Regions from separate parts of the Homo sapiens genome. Here regions 2, 3, 4, 5, 6 and 7 are each linked to region 1. The links are contacts of gene promoters, found by promoter capture Hi-C in blood cells and fetal thymus (Javierre and others, 2016). All regions are on one chromosome and are shown on one strand. Each heading gives the region's core, a stretch centred on a gene start or on the middle of the fragment in contact. The rest is flanking DNA. Distances are from core to core; before and after follow the strand shown.

Evidence for each region. The method cuts DNA at HindIII sites, captures the fragments that hold promoters and counts their contacts. A CHiCAGO score of 5 or more calls a contact.
Region 2: a contact is called between a fragment that was not itself captured here and the fragment with the promoter of NPHP3-AS1 in region 1, in 5 of 17 cell types (megakaryocytes, endothelial precursors, fetal thymus and 2 more). The highest score is 11.2, in megakaryocytes.
Region 3: a fragment that was not itself captured here is called in contact with the fragment with the promoter of NPHP3-AS1 in region 1 in 1 of 17 cell types (endothelial precursors); the score reaches 7.7 in endothelial precursors.
Region 4: a fragment that was not itself captured here is called in contact with the fragment with the promoter of NPHP3-AS1 in region 1 in 13 of 17 cell types (total CD4 T cells, fetal thymus, naive CD8 T cells and 10 more); the score reaches 11.5 in total CD4 T cells.
Region 5: a fragment that was not itself captured here is called in contact with the fragment with the promoter of NPHP3-AS1 in region 1 in 9 of 17 cell types (non-activated CD4 T cells, total CD4 T cells, M1 macrophages and 6 more); the score reaches 9.3 in non-activated CD4 T cells.
Region 6: a contact is called between a fragment that was not itself captured here and the fragment with the promoter of NPHP3-AS1 in region 1, in 15 of 17 cell types (total CD4 T cells, naive CD8 T cells, naive CD4 T cells and 12 more). The highest score is 21.3, in total CD4 T cells.
Region 7: a contact is called between a fragment that was not itself captured here and the fragment with the promoter of NPHP3-AS1 in region 1, in 4 of 17 cell types (fetal thymus, megakaryocytes, erythroblasts and 1 more). The highest score is 8.3, in fetal thymus.

The regions. Positions count from the first base shown.
Region 1 is chr3:132,720,300-132,722,999 of GRCh38, reverse strand. It overlaps NPHP3-AS1 (NPHP3 antisense RNA 1), which reads right to left and starts at 1,250. Exons shown (of 11, transcript NR_002811.2): 1 at 621-1,250. It overlaps NPHP3 (nephrocystin 3), which reads left to right and starts at 591. Exons shown (of 27, transcript NM_153240.5): 1 at 591-1,037. The coding sequence starts at 645. NPHP3-ACAD11 (NPHP3-ACAD11 readthrough (NMD candidate)) reads left to right here and starts at 541. Exons shown (of 45, transcript NR_037804.1): 1 at 541-1,037. RefSeq lists silencers at 75-584, 685-934. The HindIII fragment of the contact is 4,122 bases long and covers 1-2,700 here.
Region 2 is chr3:133,392,946-133,396,295 of GRCh38, reverse strand. TMEM108 (transmembrane protein 108) reads right to left here. Exons shown (of 6, transcript NM_023943.4): 6 at 1-432. The coding sequence ends at 310. Among named protein-coding and RNA genes, the nearest start is that of BFSP2, 5.4 kb to the left of the region's middle. The HindIII fragment of the contact is 3,788 bases long and covers 1-3,179 here.
Region 3 is chr3:133,292,142-133,295,649 of GRCh38, reverse strand. All of the region lies in intron 3 of TMEM108 (transmembrane protein 108), which reads right to left. Among named protein-coding and RNA genes, the nearest start is that of TMEM108-AS1, 37 kb to the right of the region's middle. The HindIII fragment of the contact is 1,423 bases long and covers 1,434-2,856 here.
Region 4 is chr3:133,461,394-133,465,055 of GRCh38, reverse strand. All of the region lies in intron 4 of BFSP2 (beaded filament structural protein 2), which reads right to left. The region is part of intron 1 of BFSP2-AS1 (BFSP2 antisense RNA 1); the gene reads left to right. Among named protein-coding and RNA genes, the nearest start is that of BFSP2-AS1, 28 kb to the left of the region's middle. The HindIII fragment of the contact is 5,737 bases long and covers 1-3,662 here.
Region 5 is chr3:133,477,993-133,481,455 of GRCh38, reverse strand. The region is part of intron 1 of BFSP2-AS1 (BFSP2 antisense RNA 1); the gene reads left to right. Among named protein-coding and RNA genes, the nearest start is that of BFSP2-AS1, 11 kb to the left of the region's middle. The HindIII fragment of the contact is 9,176 bases long and covers 1-3,463 here.
Region 6 is chr3:133,442,028-133,445,374 of GRCh38, reverse strand. All of the region lies in intron 1 of BFSP2 (beaded filament structural protein 2), which reads right to left. All of the region lies in intron 2 of BFSP2-AS1 (BFSP2 antisense RNA 1), which reads left to right. Among named protein-coding and RNA genes, the nearest start is that of BFSP2, 44 kb to the right of the region's middle. RefSeq lists an enhancer at 3,138-3,347. The HindIII fragment of the contact is 3,562 bases long and covers 3-3,347 here.
Region 7 is chr3:133,375,350-133,379,039 of GRCh38, reverse strand. The region is part of intron 3 of TMEM108 (transmembrane protein 108); the gene reads right to left. The region is part of intron 1 of LOC101927432 (a long non-coding RNA gene); the gene reads left to right. Among named protein-coding and RNA genes, the nearest start is that of BFSP2, 23 kb to the left of the region's middle. The HindIII fragment of the contact is 9,798 bases long and covers 1-3,690 here.

The sequences.
Region 1 (2,700 bases), core at 1-2,500:
GGTCCACTGCTGGTCCTGCACAGTCGCCACTCCCCCCATCCTTCCTGCTAGCCCCGCCCTTCTTGCTAGCCCGCCTGGCCCTGTGTGCTTTCTCGACCCACCCCCGTTTGCCCTGCCCCGCCCACATGCCCCGCCCCACTTGCCCGGCCCCTCTTGTTGTCCCGCCTAGCCCTGCTGCCCCGCCCCGTCCCCCTCGCCCATCCCCCCAGTTCCGCTGCCCCGTCCCGTTCCGCTGCCCCGCCCCTCCAGTTGCCCCACCCCCTTCCGCTCTCCCTCCCCGCCCCGTTCCGCTGCCTCGCCTCGTCCGGCTCTCCGGCCCCGCCCCGCCCCGTTCCGCTGCCCCGCCCCGTCCTGCTCCCCCGCCCCGTCCTGCACCCCCGCCCCGCCCAGTTCTGCTGCCCCGCCCCTCCTGTTTCCCCGCCCCATCCCGCTCCCCCGCCTCGCCCCGTTCCGCTGCTCCGCCCCGTCCCGCTGCTCCGCCCAGTCCTGCTCTCCGGCCCCGCTCCATCCCGCTGGCCCGCCCCGTCCCGTTCCGTTCCTCTGCCCCGCCCCGTCCCGTTCCGTTCCTCTGCCCCACCCCGTCCCGTTCCGTTCCGCTGCCCAGTCCTGCTGGTACTCACTAGGTAGTAGCGGCAACGGACGCCATGGGGACCGCCTCGTCGCTCGTGAGCCCCGCGGGCGGGGAAGTGATCGAGGACACGTACGGGGCGGGCGGCGGCGAGGCCTGCGAGATCCCGGTGGAGGTGAAGCCCAAGGCCCGCCTGCTGCGCAACTCGTTCCGCCGAGGCGCGGGGGCGGCAGCAGGGGCCGGGCCCGGGTCGCTGCCCCGCGGGGTGGGCGCGGGCGGGCTGCTGGGGGCCAGCTTCAAGTCCACTGGCTCGTCGGTGCCAGAGCTGGAGTACGCGGCGGCCGAGTACGAGCGGCTCAGGAAGGAGTACGAGATCTTTCGCGTCAGCAAGAACCAGGAGTTGTTGTCCATGGGCCGCCGCGAGGCCAAGCTGGACACGGAGAACAAGCGGCTGCGGGCCGAACTGCAGGTAACGCCGGGCTGGGCCGCGACGCCGGGAGACCCTTGGGAAGCACGGCCGTCCTGCTCCCTCTCCAAACCAAGCGGCTTTGAAAGTTCGGCGGAAACTGCCCATTTTAATTTGAGAGGCCATATTCTCTTCGAGTCTGAAATGATTCCTTAACCCTCCCCTTTTTCTGTCTCTTTTTTTGGAGACAGGGTCTCGCTGCGGTGGCACGATCGCGGCTCACTGCAACCTGGAACTCCTGGGCTCAATGATCCTCCCGCCTCGGCCTCCTAAAGTTCTGGGATTACAGGAGTGAGCCACCGCGCCTGGTCCCCGCTTTTCTATTTCTGGTTTATTCATTGAGGCACCTAGAAGAAATTAGCCGGAAAGTGTCCTGAGGAGGCAAATGCCAATCTCCAGCTCCACTGCCGCCCCCGCGCCCACCCCCTCAGAAGGCTGGTGACATCTGTTGAAGCAACTCAGCAAACTCTTCCTAGGAGTTTCACCCCCCTCCCCACCATAAAAATTTTAAGTGGGTCTCCAAAGTGGGGCTCAAGTGTCGGTTTCTTTGTAAAGTTTCATCGCTCTTGCATTTTAATGGTCTTGACATGAAAATTTCTGGAAGCCTCCTGATCTCACCATGGTTGAAAACCTTCTCTAGATGTAGTCAAATTTCCCTAGTCCATTTGATTAATTTACGCTAAAAGCAATTATTGCATGCCCTCCATGTAGCAGGTCCATTATAATTCAATAAAATAGTATGTAAAGCAGCCGGGCGTGGTGGCTCACGCCTGTAATCCCAACACTTTTCGAGGCCTAGGCGGACGGATCACCTGAGGTCAGGAGTTCGAGATCAGCCTGGCCAACATGGTGAAACCCCGTCTCTACTAAAAATACAAAAATTAGCCGGGCATGGTGGCACGCGCCTGTAATCCCAGCTACTCAGGAGGCTGAGGCAAGAGAATTGCTTGAACCCGGGAGGCGGAGGTTGCAGTGAGCCGAGATTGCACCATTGCACTCCAGCTTGGGTGACAGAGCGAGACTCCGTATCAAAAAAAAAAAAATAGTATAAAGCAAGAGGTTGCTTTTCTGTGAACGAATCTCTAAAACTTTTTGCCCTCAGTTTGGGGCCCCTCTGGTCGTTGTTGTGTCGTTTGTGTACTCTTTACTGTGGGAGAGACTTATAGGCAGCCTAAGAGTTCCCGGAGTCGTTACAGTCGGGGTGAAATAAATACCTCAGACTGATTTTTCTAAAAGAAAAAAAGCCTCCTGTCTTCAAGACTAGACATTCTTCTAGTCAGGTTTTGTTGTTGTTGTTGTTGTTGTTTTTGTTTTTAAACTCCCTCATTAGCTGTTGTGTAATTATTGTCGTTGTCTGGGAAGAAGTCCGTGTAGCAGTTTATCTGTTGTCTTATCAGTTTTCCTACTGGGCAACCTTAATGCACTTGCATGTATAAAATGGACTAGTGCATTTCAAATATCTGATTCAATGTATCCAAGCCACTGCCCAACAGACACCGCACGTTGGAAACAACTGTGAGGTGGGGGTAGAAAAGGCCAAACCAAACAGGGCGGAGTGCAATAAGGGTTGGCAAGTGTCACAGTCACTCATGTCACCAATCCTGATTCCCTGTGAAACATACTGGTTCCTTTCTCACATATCGAGGCATGAAAAAACTTATCCATA
Region 2 (3,350 bases), core at 36-2,535, 670 kb before region 1:
CTCTTACCTCACCTGACCAGGGTTCCTGGGATCCCCAGGTGCTCAAGAATAGTTATTAAGAGAAGCAATCAATGCAACTGCTTTGCTTAGAAATACCTTTATTTTATAAAGCCACAGATCATTCTGTAAAGTTTTTTTTTTTTTTAAACCACACTTGTAAAAAAGATGTTGACAATTCATAGGAAAAAAAGCTGAAAATGTTTCTCATTAAGTCAGGGTTACACAAAGGTTATATTTATAATATATGTATTTGTATATTTATAATTTAGAGACGAAAAATACGGAATGGCAAAGTGATGCCTGCTGTAGTTAGATCTCAGATACTTGATCGTTTCCCACAAACAGTGTTTCTTGACAGAAGGGGTTAACAAGGACCATCCCAGTGTCTCTATAGTCGCCATTGGCTGGGGAGCGGGGCTCTGAGAGCTGGTCCTGGGAAGAGAGAGGGAGGAGATGGAGTGAGCTGGAGAAGGCTTAAGAGGTGGCCATTCTTAAAGAAATGTACACATGGGAACATTTATTTCAGCACTGATGGCTTGGTGCACATTTTCATCATCCCTACTGCTAATGCTGAGGTGCACAGCCCTCTATGCCATTCTTTTAATTAATTTGTGTGTGTGTGTGTATGTGTATATTTTAATTTTTGTGCTGTTCTTTCATATTTTTATAGCAGCTTTCAAAAAATGTTCCCTGCTTCTGGAATCACCCCAATCCCAGGTTGCCAGAGATGGTACTGCTTTCCTTGTCAAAGTCTGAGGGGACTTGCCATGCATGACACACATACAGTGCATGGCTCACTGCACTAGTGGCAAAACTCAGTCCACTTGCACCCAGACTACTTCCTGCCTCTTTCTCACAGACTTCTGGGAAACTTCTCTGCTTTTCCTTCCTGAATACACCTAGACTCACTCGCCTGTTTCCTGCTACCCACCTGTCAGGATCTAACAGACCTGTCAAGAGGCTTCAAGGGCCAATTCCTTCCCGCTCTGAGTCCTTCCAGAGCCTGGTCAGAATTATTGCCCCATTTCTTATAGCACTAGTGATGCTGAGCTGAATGGATCTGCATCTCTGTGTGACTGCATAATAAGTGACAGATGAAAATTTCAGTCTGTATGTTCAGTTGCAGGAGCAGAAAAGCCTAGAAATAGGCCATCCACTGCCCAGAAGGTAATCTGTATGGCTTTGGCAGGGTTTTGGTTTCACTTACCAAGGACAAGCAAACATTTACGGGCTACTAAATGGCTGTACTTGGATTTGGGCCCTGGTACTAATTAAGAGAGAGAAAAAAAGAAAGTCATAGCTTCTTCCAATTAAAACAGCTAATGTCTTGGAACCTTCAAGCCATTTCAGGACAAAGACTCAACTATAGGCCTAGGTATACTGGCTCATGCCAGATTTGCTTAGCCACAATTAATTCTCTGAAGTTTATTTTTAAACAAAACATACATAACAGATACTTTCTGAGGAGTACTTACTGCTGTATGAATCATAAGGTAAGGAAGAAATGCCATTGTTGATAAAATGTCTTTTCAGAAGACAAGAATTTCCTTCAGTGTCTGGAATTAGTTCAACACCTATCTAAGGGTGGATATGGGGCCAGCCATCTAAGGAAAATAGTGGAGCACTTCAAAGAGGAGACAAAAATCCCTTTCCTCCACCATGCTTTTGGGTTTAACTGTGGAGGCTGAGCTTGGCTTGTCATTTTATAGCTTTCACAAAGCAAGTCTTCACCAAAGGCAAAACCATGTGGGTATGTTTTGCTGCATTAAAGAGAGAGTTATTCAGGAAACAACCAAAGCAAAGGAGAAGAAAAAAGAAGGGAGGAGAGAAGGAGGGAGAAAAGAAGGAAGAAGAGAAAACAGGGAGAAGGAGGAGGAGGAGGTGGGAAAAAGAAAAAAGAATGGAAGTTTCCAAGCACTTGTTGGGCATCACAATTTTGTCTGTACAGCCCTGGATCTGTGTTTTGCTGCTTGCATCAACACAGCAGTGGGGGCAGGGCAACTGAGGAACTTGCTTAGGCAAACCATTTGGCAGTCTCCAAAGTTAGCAGCTAAAGGGCAGGTGGTGAGTACATGTCCTGAGGATGTGGAACATGGTGGAATATGAACTGGGACCTTATGATTGCTCTAGAGATGGTCAGCAGTGTGTGTGTGCTTGGCTGGCTTCATCCTGGCCCTAGGCTGCCTGCATTTACCCTCATATAGTGTGAGCCCAGAGAATTGGAACAAATTGTAATATTACTCTAAATAAAGCAGAACAAGAGGAACGGCTTGCTGGGAGGGAAACAGCAAAATCCAATCCACTCTGAAGCCAAGCTGAGCTTTGTGCTGCAGGTCCTATGGCGCCCTCCTGGTCTGAAGATCACGACTGGCTGGGGCAGCCCTTTCTACCAGAGCCTCTGGATTGTGTTGGACGGCAGCCCTCGTGCTCTGTGCCAAATGACTAACTGGGATGTTCTAAAAGCAAGGGCCTTTTCTATAGTGCGTTCACGAGTATTGTCCTTTGGCTTTGGTTTTCATTTACCAATTTGCAAAGAGAATATGAGAAATTTAAAGTTCAGGGGTTCACAGCCCATACCTAAAGTAGGACCAGCCCCTTTGTCAAGTTACATATTTTTTTCCACTTACTACAACAGATCTCAGGAACACCTTTTCCATGCAAAATGTGTACAGGCCACACTAAAGGTCAATGCTGCAGTGAAGCTGGCCCCTCGTTTGTCCTCTGCTTAAAAATTTTTCTTGGGCATTTACTGTGTGTTAGGCTCTGACTGGGTGATGGGTAAATTGTGGTGAACAACATTTATAGTTCATTCACATGATAAACATTTACTAAGAACCTACCATGTGCCAGGCACTGCTCCAGGTGCTGGGAATAGAGCAGTGAGCACAACAAACAATGCTCCTGCCTCAGGCAGCAGGACAGCCAGACCACAAACCAATCAACAGAGAGACAATGATGCAATGTCAAGTGGTGAGAAGAGCTCTGAAGACAAGTAAAGTAAGGAAGAGGAAACAGAATGAGGTTGGAGATTTAATTAATACAGAGTGGTAAGGGAGGGAGGGCCTCCCAGAGGAGGTGGCATTTGAACAGAGACCTGAAGGAATTGAGGGTTCAAGGTATCCAGGAGAAAAGCATTTCAGATAGGGTGCAAGAACGAAGCTCTAAGGTGGGGGCAAGCTTCCTGTGCAGGAGGAAGAGCAAAGAGGCCACTGAAGCTGGTGTGTGATCAATGGGAAGTGTGGTGGGGGCTCAGGTGGTGGGCAGGGGCCAACTTGTGAAGGGCATGAGAATGGGAGTCTGGATTTTATTCAAAATGTAGAGAAGAGCCACTTGAAAGTGGAAGCTGTGGC
Region 3 (3,508 bases), core at 896-3,395, 570 kb before region 1:
GGTTGGAACATCTTGGATTCCAAGCCTGGTTTTACCAAATAATGCTTTTGGGCAAGTCACTGCACACTTCTGCTCTTCTGAAAAGTAAGGAGGGCCTTTCTAGATAACAATAATAACAACTCAACCTGACAAGGGGCTTTATAGTTCACAAAATGCTCTCAGGATGTTTCATTTCATGCTGACTACTTGCCAGGTAGGCATATGAGTCATCAGCCTCTCCAATTACAGAGAATGAAACAGTGGGCCCAGGAGTTCCCTAATGGGCCTACCACCACATGCTAGACGATGGTGAGCAGGGAAGCTAAAGCTCTAGGTTCTCAGCTCCTTGCTCTCCTTACTTCTCCATCCCTCCCTCCAGAAAAGCTTTGCTCAAAGCCTCCTTCCAGATCTCAAATGCTATGGTTCTCAGGGTTCCGGGCAAACTTTTTCTAGTTTCTGCATAAAAAAATTTGGATAACTGATGTCAATCTCCAAACTTGCCCTTTTAATGAAATAAACATTTAAAAAAGTGCTTATGATCTAAATGTTAATAATATGTGACTGCAGCATCTCAAATTTTATTTAAATTCATCATTTTACCATAATTTGTTGTTACAAAAGTACCTAGTGGGGAGGGGATACTTCATAAATCAGTGGTGAAAGACTTCCGTTTACTTGATAGATAAACCCCAAGTACTTTTCTCCACTGTAACACTCCCAGGTTGGTGAAATTTGATTTCAGGCAAAGAATGTACATTATTCAGTTAGTGGTTCTGTTCTCATTAGATTGAAATGGCACATACATTAATTTCTTTATTAAAAATTCTTCAGGAAATAGGACATATGGATGCTTTAAATCTCATAAATCTGAAATTACCCCAATTGTGAATCAGCCAACATTATTAAAGGGAATGTGCTGGCCTACAATTTCCTGAACTTCACCATCTCAGTAGCAGCCATTTAATAAAAGCTAATGTGCATTTAGTTTTAATTAGTTTCCATCAGTAGTTACAGAAGTTTAAAAAATAATTAAGCAAACCAATAAAAATACATCTCAATATTGCTACTTGGGAATTAAATTGATTCTATCCTTCTGCAGATAAGAGAATTATCATAGGAGGCAAATCCCCCATCTCCAGAAATAATCATTATATTGGTATTTAAATTAAATTATCCGGAAAGAATCATATTTGAAGGAAGTAGAGAAAACATCCTGAGATGAGTCATCATGAGGTGATGGCTCTGGGACATAAGGCTGTGTGTTTTTGTATTCTCATAGTTTTCTTTAGCTTCTCAACCCTAAATTGCATTTTTTAAAAAGTAAATAACACAAAAATGGTGGCTTCACTTTTTATTACCTAATTCTTCTGAGAAGTTCTGAGAATTTTAGTGCCATGTTGCTATCAGCTCAAAATAACCCTAAGGTTGGAAGATTTCTACTGTACAATAAAGCTTTCTTCCTTATATTTAACACTATCACTTATTTTCTGCCTGAAGATGCCGTGCATTTTTTATAAGGATGAAAAATATAAATGCTTATTACCCAGAAAAGCACTTCTAGTAAATTAAATTCATTCAAATCACATCAAATAAGGCAAAGAGGACCAAACACTTACAGAGAGTGGTACATTAATATTCAGTCATAACAAATCTGAGACTTTCTGCACAGTAGCCTGGTCTATCTTTGGCAAAGGATGGCAGTGTTCCAGTTTGCAACATCTCCCCTTGGTGTACGGAAGCTGATTTCTATGTTGCCAGCTGCCACTGGATGCAATTTTAAAATTCAAGTTGACAACCTCTTAACTCTTCTGTTATACTCTAATTGAGGTGATGGTCTCTGCTTCCAATCTGAACTAGACAAGACACTGTGAGATAAGAGGAATCTTCAATATGTTAAAAAAAAACCCTCACACACAAGATGTAGGCATGTTCTACTTCAATTTCATGTAAGTGGAGAAAAAGAAAATGGACTTAAGCTGCACAAAGAATGCTCATGCTTGACGAGTTAGCCAGCAAAACCACTCAACATCCGTCTTAGGAAGGAACTAAAAATAAAGGGTCCTAGTTATGCTTGAAAGTTGGCACTGGCATAAGGCAGGAAGTTGGTGAGATGAATCCTTAAGATCCACTCGAATCCAGGAATGTGTATTTTATTATTAATCTTTGGTCTTGAGTGCATCTAATTCAATACTGGACAGTGTCCAAACCTCATTCATTTAATAGCCAACAATTTAATTCCCAAGCCTAACATAGAACCTGGCACATAGTAAGCCAACACTTGTCAAGGGCTTACTATGTGCCAGGCTCTGTGTTAGGCTTGGGAACAGATACAAAGAAGAAGGTTTCTACCCTTGAGGAGTGTGATAAAGGCTTTCATGGAGAGAAGTGCTAAATTTGATGAGAATTCAAAGGTAGGCATGATTGATTCATCTGTGGACTCAGTGTTGAAGAAAGTTGGAGGCTGGATCCTTTGATGAATGGCAGATGGTTTAAATGAATACTCTATCAATGAGAATTAACATTTCCTAAAAGGTATTTACTGGTAAACTAATTCCTCTTTGTGTCTCAGAAAAAGCAACTTGTCTTACAAGGTTAAATTATGCACAATTCTGTTCCCTATTGTTCTTAAGAATATTATGTTTATAGAATGTTACTCTTTTCTCTCAAAGCTCCATTCACCTAAGACATCACTTGTTATTCCTGGTCTCAGAAATAAAAGCATGCTAGTATACCAACTTTATAGATAGGGAAACTATGACCTAGAGAATGTCTCATTTGGCCAGTTATTTGGCTTAAGTTGGTGTAAGCAAGTGGCATATGAAATAGAACTGGAAGCCAAGCATCCTCTATCTCAAGCCCAGAGCTCTCTACAAAGCTTTGCTTGATCAAACTGCTAAGTTCAGAATTTTACAGCAGGGGAGTTGTGGCTAAGGCATCTGTGTCTCTGAGAAAAGGAGAGGGCTTTGGTGCTTTAGAGTTTGAAACAGATGCTTTAAAAAAAACTTTATAAAAACTGTCTCCAGGGTCCCCATAGCAGGCAGGCTCTGAAACAAAACCACACGTGCCTACCACCTAATTGCAGAACACTTGGGTGGGCTGTTCATGCCTGACACATTTTATAAGCAGCAGAATTCCAAGTTCCACGCATGTTGTTTATTTCTCTTATGATGACAATCAGTGCCAAAGCTAACAGCAAGCAAGAGGCAGACAATGGTAGGATCAAAGGAGAGCCTGAGATCAACCGAAACCCTGGCAATGGGCCTAATGAGGACTGGGCAAGGAAACCATCACTTTGTGAGGTAAAAACAATGGAACTGGAGGGGAGCTTAGCAGTGAAACCTTTATTTGAAGAAATCTTATGAAGAACCTTGATATTTATAAAACAACTTCTGTCCTACCTGAGCAGTTTTTTGGAGCACAGTTTGAAAACCTTGAACTTGCCACACATATTTCCTTATCCATACTTGCACACATGGCATTTTATATCCCATGTATAAAAAAAACATTCTCTTCTTCCCTTTACCAATCT
Region 4 (3,662 bases), core at 785-3,284, 740 kb before region 1:
CCAGCCTGGGTGACAGTGAGACTCCATCTCAAAAAGAAAAAAAAAAAAAAAAAAGAAACCCCAAGTCAAGTGGCTCATAGCTCAGTAGTAGCACCTCCAATTCTTACTGTTTGGTCTTTACAGAGCCCAAAGAATGACCATTAAAGGCTTTGGAGTCGCTGAAGGAGAACAGAAGCCTTGGACCCAGCTCTGACTGGTTAGCCAACAGCTTGTGTCCCTAAGCCATCATTCAGCTTCTCAGAGTCTCAATTTCTGCCCATGGAACACAGACCACAATGAATGGAGAATAATACTCATTATCATATAATGACTCCCTCCTGTGGTCACTGTGAGGCTTCCAGCAGATTAAGCATGCTGAAGCCTTTAGAATCTTAAAAGCATGAAAACACTGACTATATATTTTCCAAATGTAAAAAGTAATAGTGGCCAACAAATAACTTTTGTTATTTAATAGTTAAATAACAAAGTGGTAATAGTTAAATGCTACTATGAAGAGTCAAATATTTAGTAACAATTAAATAGTAATAGTTAAATACTACTAATAATAAAGAATATGTATTAGGCACTTATTCTGTGCCAAGCACATTGTTAACAGTTTTAATCAAGTATCTAATTTAATCTTTACAACCCTATGAAGGAGATGTCATTATTATCCTCATAGGAAACTGAGGCACAGGGAGATTGAGTTATTTGCTCAAGATTATATGGCCAGTGAGAGACAGAAAGAGGATTCCAGCCCAGCAGCAGACCCAGAGATGTGCTCTCAACTAGTATTTAATGTTGTCATCTCCACCAATCTACCAATTTAAGATCCCTAAAATTGGAGGTATCTTCCCCAAACTCAGGTGGATCATTCTGAAGTATACTCCTTGTCTTCCAAGTTCTTATGATCAATACCCCAGTTTTTCTCCCCTCTTTGGGGTTGGGTTCCTGGCCAGATGGGCTGTGTAGGTAGGTAGGAGGCAGGAGGTGGGGCATCCTGGAAGGCAAATGGAGTCAGACAATGTAGCTACAGAGGGTGGCGGGGAGCAGTAGTGAGCTAGAACTTGCTCCTAACAGCTCACGGGAGCTGATTTTTAAATTTTCAGGAATGTTGTAAGTTGACTGCTAAACACAGCCATCATTAGAAATTAAATTACATTGTTACTGGTAACTGTAACAGAGGTAGCTAATAGGTAGCCAGTCAGACATGAACAGGGCGGGAGAGGCACCCCCACAACCAACTAAGAATGTCAGGTGACCATCAGGTGATGGTCAGGTGGTTGTTAACAGTCTCTCTAAAATAATAACTTGTCACAGCTGGCAGGGAAAAGCAGTCTCCCTAAAGATAGAAAAAACCTGAAACTGGTGATCAGCAACTTCCTGATAAGATCTCAGGAGTTGGGCAAGTGAGCTCAAGCATGCACACTAAAAGGCAAAATGGCAGAGTTAAACTGGTATATGACCTCCTAGGGGCATTTAGCTGGTAAGAGAAGAATGCCTTAAATGAGCAGGTGTACAACTCCAGTAAACACACTGCGCATGCTCCCCTCCGAAGTGCTAGCAGGCCATCGCACATGCGGACACCCCACCCCAAGGGAGGAATCGGGAGAAGGGATGAAAGATCCCAGAAGCATGCCAACGTATAAATCCCCAAGTCAAAAGGTCAAACTGCGCACTTGTCTTTCAAGTTGCCTGCTTGGCCCTCTTCCAAGTGTATTTCCTTCCTTTTGTTTCTGCTCTAGAGTTTTTTGTTTGTTTTGTTTTGAGATGAAGTCTTGCTCTTGTCCCCCAGGCTGGAGTGCGATGGTGCGATCTCAGCTCACCGCAACCTCTGCCTCCCAGGTTCAAGCAATTCTCCTGCCTCAGCCTCCCGAGTAGCTGAGATTACAGGCGCCTGCCACCATGCCCGGCTAATTTTTGTATTTTTAGTAGAGATGGGGTTTCTCCATGTTGGCCAGGCTGGTCTCGAAATCCTGACCTCAGTTGATCCGCCGGCTTCAGCTTCCCAAAGTGCTGGGATTTCAGGCGTGAGCCACCGCACCCGGTCTCTGCTCTAGAGTTTTTAAATAAACTTTCACTCCTGTTCTAAAACTTGCCTCCGTCTCTTCTGCTTTATGCCCTTCAGTTGAATTCTTTCTTCTGAGGAGGCAAGAATTGAGGTTGCTTCAGACCCCCTACAGATTTGCCACCAGTAACAAATAATGTGAGTGACTTTTTGCTTAATCAGAAATTAGTAATCAAGCATTTTTTGTAGTCTGATTTTGTGATACTATTGTTGATGATAGAATTATAAAAAATGGTTGGTGAATTTTCCAAGAAATAGCAAGTCATGCTGAAGTTATAGGTGTAATTGAAATAGCAAAGTATTTTGTCTTAAAATTTGTGTTATTTCTAAAATTATATATAAAAAAATCAGTGGGAATTGTTACATTACCCTTAAGCAGTATTGTGAATGTGATTGGCACATATATACATATACATATATTTCACCCAGAAAGCAGTTGTGAAACATTTACCATCACTCCATACGGAAAAGCCAGGGAAGGAATGGAGGCAAGTTTCAAAGCCTTGGTGTGCAGGTCTAGTGTAAAGCTGCTGGCCAAGGCTATAGCCACAGTCCCTCACATGATTTGTCCCCTCTCAATCCAGTGAGCAGCTTCCGTGATATTTACTGGTTTCTTGGCTGAAACACCATGTCTTAGTTTCATTAGCAAAAATACTGTATTTAGGTGTTTCTCAAATGTTCTTGCACCACTGACATGGTTTTTCACACTCTCTTAATACTCATTCATGCTATTTTTATTTAAACCAATTCACTCTTTTTTTACAAATAAACGTGTTTAAAATGGAAACTGTAGGTTAGTTATCTGTAAACTGTAGGTTAGTTTAAAATGGAAACTATAGGTTAAATGCGCATGAGCGTCACCTTAGGATCTTGAGAAAATGTGGGCTCTGATGCAGGGGATCCTGAGTACAGCTCAGAAATCTGCACTCCCAGGTCCATGCCTGCCTGGTCCATGGAAGCAAAATTCTAGATCGCTGCAGAAACCAATGAAACAGTATCCCTTGCAGTGGGTAGAGGATAACTAAAAAATTAATAAAGTTATAACCAACCACTGTTATTAAATTCCAGCTACCATTGACTGCCAAGCTGCTAAGTCCTGAGGCCTGCTTTCTCTTTGTGGAAAGGGGAGATAAATAAGTACAACAGAGGTGTTAAAGACCTCCCAGCACTGAACAGAGGCTTTCTTCTAGTTTAAGATTGAAAGAGCAAAAGAATGTAATTTGATCACTACAAGTTTTAATGTCACTGTGTTCCTTCTCAAATCATCTCACCACAAGAGATACTTCCCACTTAATTGCTTTAACTCACCTAAAGTAACCACTGCTAAAAGTAATTCACCTAAAAGTATTACACATTTTTATCCAATGGCTTTTTAGATTTGTGCTTTCTGGTTATTATAACTCTATTTCTGTTTCCATTTCAACCCTGTGCCTCCAGATTTCTTCTCATAGACCAGAGAGTAGGTGTGTCATCTAGCCCCTGAGGATAGGAAGGTGGGGCTGTGTTTTGTTGCCCGGTGCAGTTGTTAGGGTGTGTGATGAAATTCAGATATGTTGATCCCTAGGCTTTGAAACTGCACAGGACCTGAGCCGCCCGTGTTTGCACTCCAGCAGGG
Region 5 (3,463 bases), core at 516-3,015, 760 kb before region 1:
AATCTATAAATTACCTTGGGCAGTATGGCCATTTTCACGATATTGATTCTTCCTATATATGAGCATGGAATGTTCTTCCATTTGTTTGTGTCCTCTTTTATTTCATTGAGCAGTGGTTTGTAGTTCTCCTTGAAGAGATCCTTCACATCCCTTATAAGTTGGATTCCTAGGTATTTTATTCTCTTTGTAGCAATTGTGAATGGGAGTTCACTCATGATTTGGCTCTCTGTTTCTCTTTATTGGTGTATAGGAATGCTTGTGATTTTTGCACATTGATTTTGTATCCTGAGACTTTGCTGAAGTTGCTTATCAGCTTGAGGAGATTTTGGGCTGAGACGATGGGGTTTTCTAAATATACAATCATGTCATCTGCAAACAGGGACAATTTGACTTCCTCTTTTCCTAATTGAATACCCTTTATTTCTTCCTCTTGTCTGATTGCCCTGGCCAGAACTTCCAACACTATGTTGAATAGGAGTGGTGAGAGAGGGCATCCTTGTCTTGTGCCGGTTTTCAAAGGGAATGCTTCCAGTTTTTGCCCATTCAGAATGATATTGGTTGTGGGTTTGTCATAAATAGCTCTTATTTTTTTGAGATACATTCCATCAATACCTAGTTTATTGAGAGTTTTTAGCGTGAAGGGGTGTTGAATTTTGTCAAAGGCCTTTTCTGCATCTATTGAGATAATCATGTGGTTTTTGTCATTGGTTCTGTTTATGTGATGGATTATATTGAGTGATTTGTGTATGATGTTTAAAAAAAGCTCAGAAAGTGTCTGGGGATGTTGAAACAGATGCCTGGTCACTTGCCTTGATTTGCATGGGGCTGAAACAGGAATGAGAATTCAGCCCAGAGATAGGGTTCAGAGCTGTCAGAAGAACTGATGTAATTTGAGGTGGGTCCTGAAGCTAGATTGAGAGACAGCCTATGAGACCTTGGAGAGAAAATCACCATGAGGGAGAGAAGAGACTGGCAGAATAGTCTGACTGAGCAGGTGGGGGCTGGCTGTTAGGCCGTGCTGGCCTCTTTGATTCAGCTCACTTCTCCCAGGGCTTATGTGGTTAGGAGATTAAGGAAAGGAGAGGGGTATGAAAGAAAACAAAAGGCCTGTGTCAGGGGAGGCTCAAGGTCTCTGGTAGAGGAAACTCCCTCCAAAAGAGCTAGTTATGAGAAGCAGTGCAGTGCAGTAGAAGGATTACGTGGGCCAATTAGGAGGCCTATAAAACTGTTGGAATGTAGCCACTCTGTTTCTAGGTGGGACGCTCACCTGCCAGGAATTTCAGCAGTAGAAGGATTACGTGGGCCAATTAGGAGGCCTATAAAACTGTTGGAATGTAGCCACTCTGTTTCTAGGTGGGACGCTCACCTGCCAGGAATTTCAGTTGTATTTGGTGAGGAAAATTGGTGGGAAAGCAGGACTTCTCACAAATTATCGTGCAAATATGACCTCGATTGTTTTCACAAGCTGGTCAAATCCATTGTAGATCCCACCCACCTCTAGTCAACTTTAATCTATGCTGTCCATTGTGGTAGCCACTGGCCACATGTGGCTATTGAGCTCTTGAAATATGACTAGTGTGACGGAAGAACTGAATTTTAAGTGTTATTTAATTTTAATTAATTAAAAATTTAATTAAAATCTTAAGCTGTGTAAAATATTTGTCCTGAAAACTTATAAGAAAAATTTGAAATGGGATTTTTTATGTTGATACATTTAGAGTTGATTCTCAATATATGTAATACCTCCTTGAACATGATGTTAATAAATACTGAATGAGATGCAAGACTTAATGAATTTACTTAACTTAGACAGGTGTGGTTTTGAAACTGATGTGCTTTTGCTTCAAAGTCACACGAACTCTTCTGAAAAAGATGAACCACTTTATGTCAATGTGGATATGAAGATCAAAGGAAAACAAATCTTGTGATCTTAAATTCAGTTATTGGAAAACTTTTAAGTATGTTTGGAACAGCTTGGGTACGTCAATTTACTTTTTCAACTATAAATTTTATGAAATTTAAATATAGCTCAAGTATTTCTGATGAAGATTTAGTATGTGAATTGAGATGGGCTATTAGGGTAAAACATAAGCCAGATTTCAAACTTAGTACCAAAAATATAAAACTCTCAATAATTTAAAAATATTGATTACATTATGAAATAATAGAATTTTGGACATAACAAGATGATTAAAATATATTAAAATTAATTTCACCTGTTTATTTTTCCCTTTTTGAGATATGGCTATTAGAAAAATTAAAATTACATATGTAGTTTGCATTCTGTTTCTATTGGACAGTGCTAATCTAGATTATTTAAGGGCAGGTTCACATTTCGTACATCTTCATATTCTTGGCCTCTAACATGGCATTGACATATAACAGGGACTGCATAAATATTTATTGAGGAAAAGGATTTAGTTTTGGAGGGAGCTTTCCACTACTCAGCATGATTGTTGCTCTGGTGAACTGCTAAGACTGAATTCCCAAAATAATGTGTAAACCCACTATTTCACTTCCTCAGGACAATTTATTACCCTACGTGTTTCTCTTGCTTCTTTTCTTTTGGTTGCTGGTACTAAACAATGAGGGGCTGAACCTACCACTAGTCTATTGATTTCCTGTCCCCTCTCCTTTTGTTTTCTTCTCAAAGCAACCACAACACCATTAATTATCATCCAGGGAGTTAGTGACAACTTGTCTTAATCATCTTGTCAGGTTTGCCTTTGTCTTTTTAGTTTAAAGTTGTGAACCCCATTTATACACTTTTCCTGTCTAGGATGTCAGTAAGAACTTTAGCTGTAGATAAAAACAAAACAAAAACAAGGTATGCATGACTTGTCCAAAGAAATTTAGTAGTTTTTGCTCATCCATTTTGCAAAGCCCTTTCTTTAAGATGCAACATGTTTTTTGGTCCAATCCCAGAATTACACTGAAAACTGGACTCCCTGTGGTGCAAATTACCTTCCACTCTCAGAGCAGGAGAAAATGGAATATTTCCTCTTGGGCATGATAGCAAAAACTCTGTCGACTCTGCAACACCACATGTCTATGCTGGGATCTATTCCTGTTCCTGCTCAACCTTTTGTTCAAAATAACCAGTCGATATGATCCAATCAAACCAGTTACTTCAGCTGAGAAAACAGTTTGCTTTAGTTCTTCACTAAACTAGCAGACTAATTTCTCAAACACGATGGTGCTTTTGTGTCAGGGGACTGAGTTTCCAATCAAGAATGGGTAAAGACACAGTCTGGGTCATCCTTTCCCCTTCTTGTGTATTGGGATGTCCCAACTGGAAGTGCTAGGCAAACCTTTATGAATTGCTTGATGTCAGATAACTATGTGGGGAATACGAAGTATGGAGTGCTTCTGTCTGATATTATTACAGCTGCAAGCTAATGTTTTAGCATAAGTATGTCTCATGCAACATGTGGGACATACTTATACTAAAAACCTCTTCCTT
Region 6 (3,347 bases), core at 534-3,033, 720 kb before region 1:
CTTTCCAGGGGCTTATGATGCATACTCAACCTTGAGAACCCCGGTTTCACATGGCCCTGCCCCCAGGCCTGCTCTAGCTGCCTCCCTGCTGCACCTGGAATCCCTCTGTGCCTTTGCACCTGCTGCCTCCATTGAGAGCAACTTGTTTCACTACCTCCCCACTCCCAGCCCTCAGTCTGAGAAAGCCTGCTCCAGTATAATGCTCATTTCAAACACGGCTTCCCCATGAAACTTTTCTATTTATTCACTCATTCATTCTTGCCTTAATTTCTTCAGCACATAATTACTGTTTATGCCAGGCTCTGTCCTGTTTGTTGAGAAACCAGCCGCTACTGTAGGAGATGAGGTTAAAAAGGTAGACAAGACCAGACCATAGAGGGAAGGCCTTGGGCACAATGGAAAGGAGTTGAGATTTACTGGGAAGCCTTTGAAAGGGCTTGAGCAGGTTACAGAGGTGATCTGTGCACTAAGTGGACCCTCTGACTACTGTGGGAAGAGAGGATTGGAGGAGGCAGGAGAAGATGCCAAAGAACCAGTCGGGAGGCTCTTGCGGTGGTCCAGGGAGCCCATTTTATTAATGATGGTGGCCTGGACGAACGATGTGATCATAGGGTAGGTGGAAAAATGTGGACTAGTTTAAGATGCATTTGGGGGATAGAACAGTCGGTTCTTTGTGGTGCAGTAGTTATGGGGAGAGTGAGGGAAAACAATTAGGGGTGACCGCTCCGTTTCATCCTGAGCTGTAGAGAGCATGGTGGGGCCTTTGCTGATTCTCTTCCTCCCTCATTGGCTGGTTCCTGCATCTGAGTCACAGCCCACCCCTGTGGCACATTATCCCTCTCTTACCACATTTAGTATAAATACTTTGTAGACAACGACAGTGTTTTCTTATTCTGGAAACTGGCTCCTCCATTCACAAGCATGGGTCAGTTGCTTAGAGTAAGTAATTCTAAGATTTGGTTTCCTCCCCCATAAAATGAAGATAATAATACTCCCTTCCTCCTGGGAGAATTAAATGAGCCAAGGTGTGTGAGACTCAGCGTATGTGTGACTCAGCAGATTGCCTGGCACAGAGTAAATATTGCATGAACGGTAGCCATTATCATCATTGTTATTTGTCTTTGTACAAAGCAGTTGTTCAATGAATGTCGAATGAATTTGATGGGTTTGTGCAGTCTGGCACTGATCCTGCTTTACTTTTCTGAAGTGCACAGGCAGTTGAATGAAGACTTCCATCTAGTGGCTTGATATATATATATGTATATATATACATATATATTTTTTTCCTTTGTTTTTCCTGTCCATAGTCATCTGAAAAGTCCTAGTCATTTGTACCATGATGGTGAGGACTTTATCTCTTTCTATAATACTACTCCTGTTTTCACTGCGGATGTAGTTATTAAAATAAATGAGCTGGTGGTGGTGGATGAGAGATTTGACCATCATTGTGTTAAAGGAAAGGCAAATACAAGCAGCGTTTTAAAAAAGGTTATCATTTGGGCCCAAGGGTACAATGAATGGTTTGTTTGGAGTAAAGATATTGGCATTCTGGCAGCTAGAGCTGCAGGTGTGGGGAGGAGGTGGGTAAGACTGAGCTCCTGGGAAATTAAACTCAGCTGGTGCAGTGGCAAGATGCAAGATTCCCTTGGAAACCCTTCCCACATTTATTTGACTTTCAAGTTTAGGATGGATGTTCAGCATAACTTGCTTCTAGCAATAAAGGAATGAGAAATAATTCTCAGTCCCTAGCACCCCAGTGATACTGCTCTTAATAACAAGGCCACCGTATTACCAAGCCCGGCAGATGCTTCTCTGTGCTCATATTGACCTGCTGGTTGCATTTGTCACAGATGTACTTTTCTGTCTCGGCTTCCATGACACCACTCTCTCTGGACTTCCTCCTACTTCATTGACCATTCTTTCTTATTATTCTCTGCTTCACCAGGTTTTTCTTCCTTATCTGACCTCTAAATGTTAAAGTTTTTCAAGATTGGGTCTTGGTGCTTCTTTTTTTTAATCACTAAATGGTCTGATCTATCCACACAGATTTAAATGGCATTGTATGTGCTAATGACTTTCACATTTAAATGTCTATCTCAGAACTTTCTGCTCAGCTCCACACTTGCATACTCACCCTCTCTTTGAGGTCTTCACTTGGCTATTTCTCAGACATCTCAAACTTAACATGTCCCCGAATGAAAATCTAGATAATTTTGGCCGGGTGCGGTGGCTCACGCCTGGAATCCCAGCACTTTGGGAGGCTGAGGTGGGTGGATTACCTGAGGTCAGTTGTTCCAGACCAGCCTGGCCAACATAGTGAAACCCCTGCCTCTACTAAAAATACAAAAAATTAGCTGGGCGTGGTTGCACGCACCTGTAATTCCAGCTATTTAGGAGGCTGAGGCAGGATCATGGCTTGAACCCAGGAGGCAGAGGTAGCAGTGAGCTGAGATCGCACCACTGCACTCCAGCCTGGGCAACAAGAGTGAAAATCCATTAAAAAAAAAAAAAAGAAAATCTAGATAATTTCCCCACAAATCTTCCCTTTCCCCACCACCCCTTGATCCTCTTCATCTCAGTAAACAACCCCAATGTCTACCCGGAAACCAAGGGATCATCTTGATCTCTCACTTTCTGTCATCTCCCACATCTCATTTATCACTGAGTCTAGTCAATTCTACCCCCACAATGTATCTCAAATCCATTTATTTCTCTCTACCTCTCTTGACATCACCCTAGTGCAAGTCCCCATCATGCTCTCCTATCCCATTATAATATCCCATTGTAATATCCTTCCAACTCCCTGATCTGTACCTCCCTCCTCCAATGCATTCTGCATCCTGCTTCCAGAGTGGGCTTTTTAAACTCTTAAAATCATATCATGTCACTCTGATTAAACTAAATTAAAACTCTTCAGAGGGGCTAGGTGTGGTGGTTCACGCCTATAAGCCCAGCACTTTGGGAGGACAGGGTGGGTGGATTGCTTGAGCCTAGAAGTTTGAGACCAGCCTGGGCAACATAGCAAAACCCTATCTCTCCAAAAAACAAAACAAAACAAAAAAACAGAATTTATCCAGGTGTCATGATGTGCACCCACAGTCCAGCTACTTGGGAGACTGATGTGGGAGGATCTCTTGAGGCCAGGAGGTCGAGGCTGCAGTGAGCTATGATTGCACCACTGCACTCCAGCCTGAGAGACAGAGTGAAAGTGAAAGCCCATCTCAGAACAAAAACAACACACAAAACAAAACAAAACTCTATAGAAGTGTCTCTTATACTTAGAGTAAAACCCAGTCTTCTGAAGTGGCCTTCAAGGCCCTGCATGCTTGTTACTCTTCCATTGCTCC
Region 7 (3,690 bases), core at 929-3,428, 660 kb before region 1:
AGGCAGAAGAGGACCGGGGTCTAGAGAAGAGCAACCAGACCTGGAGCCCATAAAAGCACTTAGCACAGCCTGGAACAGAAGGTGCCTTCTACAAATGCCGGCTGGTGTCATGGTTGTTATTAACTGCTTTTCCTATGGCATTCATGTGGCTGAACTCTGAAAAATTGTCATTGGTGATATCCAGCCTTTTTGAGTAGAAGGAGCCCTTTTGAACATTAAAAAAAAAAAAAAAAAAAGGATTTTGTATGATAGCCAATGTGCATACTTGCAGTTCAAGAAAATGCACAAGGACAAAAACGTATATGTTTAAAAACATTTCTAGTTATGTGTGGATTTTATCAATCACAATAGCATGTGCCTATTTTTAAAAATGGTACCTCATGCAAGCATGACATGTAGGAGCCGTTGACAACACATGGGTTGGGAAGAGCCTGTCTCTACGGCTGAGGAAGGGCCAACAGTCCTCTGAGGCCTGATTCTGACCTGTTAGCACCTCCTTGTTCATGGATCCCCTTCTTTGTCATCCTCAGGCAGTTCCTTCAGCCCCTGCTAGGCTCCTCTGACTATGGAGAGAGATCTCTGTCTGCGTCTAATTACTCTCTCAGAGCGTCTTTCCTCCATCAGATTCCAGCAGGACAAACGGCCAAAGCAGGGGCCCCAGCTGTGATTCCCAGGTGTCTGATGGAGAAGGCAGGGCCCTGGCGAGAAGCAGAGATGGGGAGGAGATCTCCAGGCATGCCTTTGACACAAGGCCCAGGATCACCGTTTGGTGTGTGGTGGAGCCTGGGCATGGGCCTGTGTCCTCACCCTGCACTTCTAAATTGGTGGGGAGTGGGAGGCTGCGGGGGACTTTAGATTGCACTGAGGCTGTAGCACCCACCAACTCTAGGACCAAAAATTTGCCCTAAACAATCTATTTTTTTCTAAACTTTCATTCATGATCTAGACTAGCGGTCCCCAACCTTTTTGGCACCAGGGACAAATTGTCTTCCACTTGGTTTTGTGGAAGACAGTTTTTCCATGGACTGGAGTTGGTCGGGGGGGGTATGGTTTTGGGATGAAACTCTTCCACCTCAGATCAGCAGGCATTCAATTCTCATCAGGAGCACGCAACCAGATCCATCCCTTGCATGTGCAGTTCACAATAGGGTTTGTGCTCCTATGAGAATCTAATGGTGCCGCTGACCTGACAGGAGGCAGAGCTCTGGCAGTAACGCTCTGGCGGTGATGCTCCGGTGGTGATGCTGGCTCACCGGCCTCCCACCTCTTGTGGTGCAGCCTGGTTCCTAACAGGCCACAGACTGGTACTGGTCTGTGACCCAGTGGTTGGGGACCCCTGATCTAGACCACACACCGACAGCACATTCTGTGTATTCGAGTCAATCCTAAAACCTGTTTACTGAACACTTGCCCTGGCCCAGGCTTTCATGCTTTAATCCATATGACCACTTGGTGGAGCATGAAATTGAGGTTTGGGGAGATTAGGCAACATGTGGAAAGTCACACAGTAGCAGAAGTATGTGAAACAAGGGTTGTCTTTAAAGTGCATGCTTATCCTGGTCAACCACTATCAATGATGCAGAAGGAGGAAGAAGAGGACAGTATGTTGCATCCCAGAAGAATTAATGTGCTGTTATGCTCTGACCTGCTCAGGGTTATTCTGGTGCCCCTATCCTGCCCACAGCTTAACACCAGAGAGACAATCTATTCCTAGGGCTAGTGGTGGTGACCTCCATGTTTTGATGGACATTCCCTTTCAAGTGTCTGTTTAGCTCACAAGTGTTAAGTGTTGTTAAGGACTGACTTATGCACCCCCAAAATCCCTATGTTGAATCCCTAATTCCCAGTACCTTAGAATGTGACTATATTTGGAGATAGGGCTTTCAAAGAGGTAATTAAAGTAAAATGAGGCCAAAAGAGTGGGCCCTAATTCGATCTGACTGGTGTCCTTCTTAAGAAGAGGAGATTAGGACACACAGACATCTGGAGCACGTGTGCACAGAGGGATGATCATGTGAGGACACGGCAGCTAGAGGACGCCATCTGCAAGCCAAGGAGAGAGGACTCGGGGGACTCCAACCCTATTGGCGCCTTGAATTTAGACTTCCATCCTCCTCAAATGTGAGGAAGTACATTTCTGTCTGTGGTATTGTGTTATGGAAGCCCTAGCAAACTAATACACATGCCTTATGTTAAGAGATCCTCTGAAAAAGGAGAGACAGAGACAGGGCTTTTGTGCAGGAAGTTTATACTGGAAAATGATCTGTGGGGTCAGCCGTGGGGGTCTGAGATTAGTGAAACAGGGAAAACCAATCTGAGGGCAGGTTATGAGCTGGTCCAGGTGGGCACCTCAAACTCACAGGGGACGTCAGTGGAGCTGAGTAGGCTGCACCTCAAATTGTCTGCCTGAAAAGAACACTCACCCAGAGGCTCCCATATTCACTGATCAAGGGCTGCTCCTGGGATGCTCATCACTGCACTTCCTGACTGACGCCAGGTCTCCATTAGCTGGATCAGAGAAGTTCTGGGCCATAGGGCTGTCAGGTTCTGCCTGCACCCAGCTGGTGTTTGCTGCAACAGCTGGAGTTAAAATTAAGGGCCCGGGGAATCTCTGGGGCCAGGCACCAGATGTGTCAGATACAATAAAAGACCGGAGACCAAGGACACAGCAGTCTTTTGGAAGCAACATTGGCTGACCCCAGGGACAGGCCCTCAGGTGGGAGAGGAGCCACCATGGCCTCTAGGAGAACTTTTGCGGCACTCCAGAGGCAGAGAGAGGGGTTAATACAGACTGATCTTTAAAACACTCAGGGAAAAAAATTCCCCTGACTTTCCCATCACTGGCATTCCAGGAACTAACATCCTCCTAGCTGGGAAGCCTTTGACTGGAATCCTTGGTGCTGTAAGATACACAGCCTAAGTAAATATGTTTGTCTTTGTTGCTGCTGCCTATTTCCCCCACTCAGCTATCAGCATCCCCTGAAGTTATTGTTCTCTCTAGAACTGTAGAGTTACCTCTTAGCCCTTTCTTCTTTGGACTTTAGAGTACATCATCTTTGGCACAATGAACGGATACTGCCACCGTGGGTGCCAAGGGATTTTTACCTGGAGGATGATGTTTACATGTTACAGTGAGAGGGGATCTGGCATTTCACCTAATCCAATCCCCTCATTTCACAGAGTGGGCAACAGAAGGAGGGAAGTGACTTGTCCAAGAACACATTGCTGGTTGGGGACACAGCCTGGACCACAGCCATTATTTCAAAGCAACTTTTCATTTGTATAATAAAAATCCCTACAATGTTGTGCTAGCCAAATACCACCTCCAACCTCTACTGTCACCTTCAATATGGAAATCAGACAAGCATTTACCTCTCTTCTTTGGCACAAAAGGTTAACAACTGAATGCTATGCACACTGTCACAATAAACATCTGAGGCCTTCAACCCAGGGCTTCCCTAACACATGCAAATTTTCATTCAAGGCCCTTTGTGCTGGACTACACACTCCCCCTCCCCACAATCTGAGGCTACTGCCTCTTTGCATATTATTTGCATGGATTTGCATAATGGACTCTAGAGGCTTTAATTCCAAATATGTAGTAGAGACTAAAGCTAAAACCTAGCTTCACATGCTTGAAATGTGGAACCGATTTTTAAAACGTGTCTGAATATGGACAATTGTTGTGGG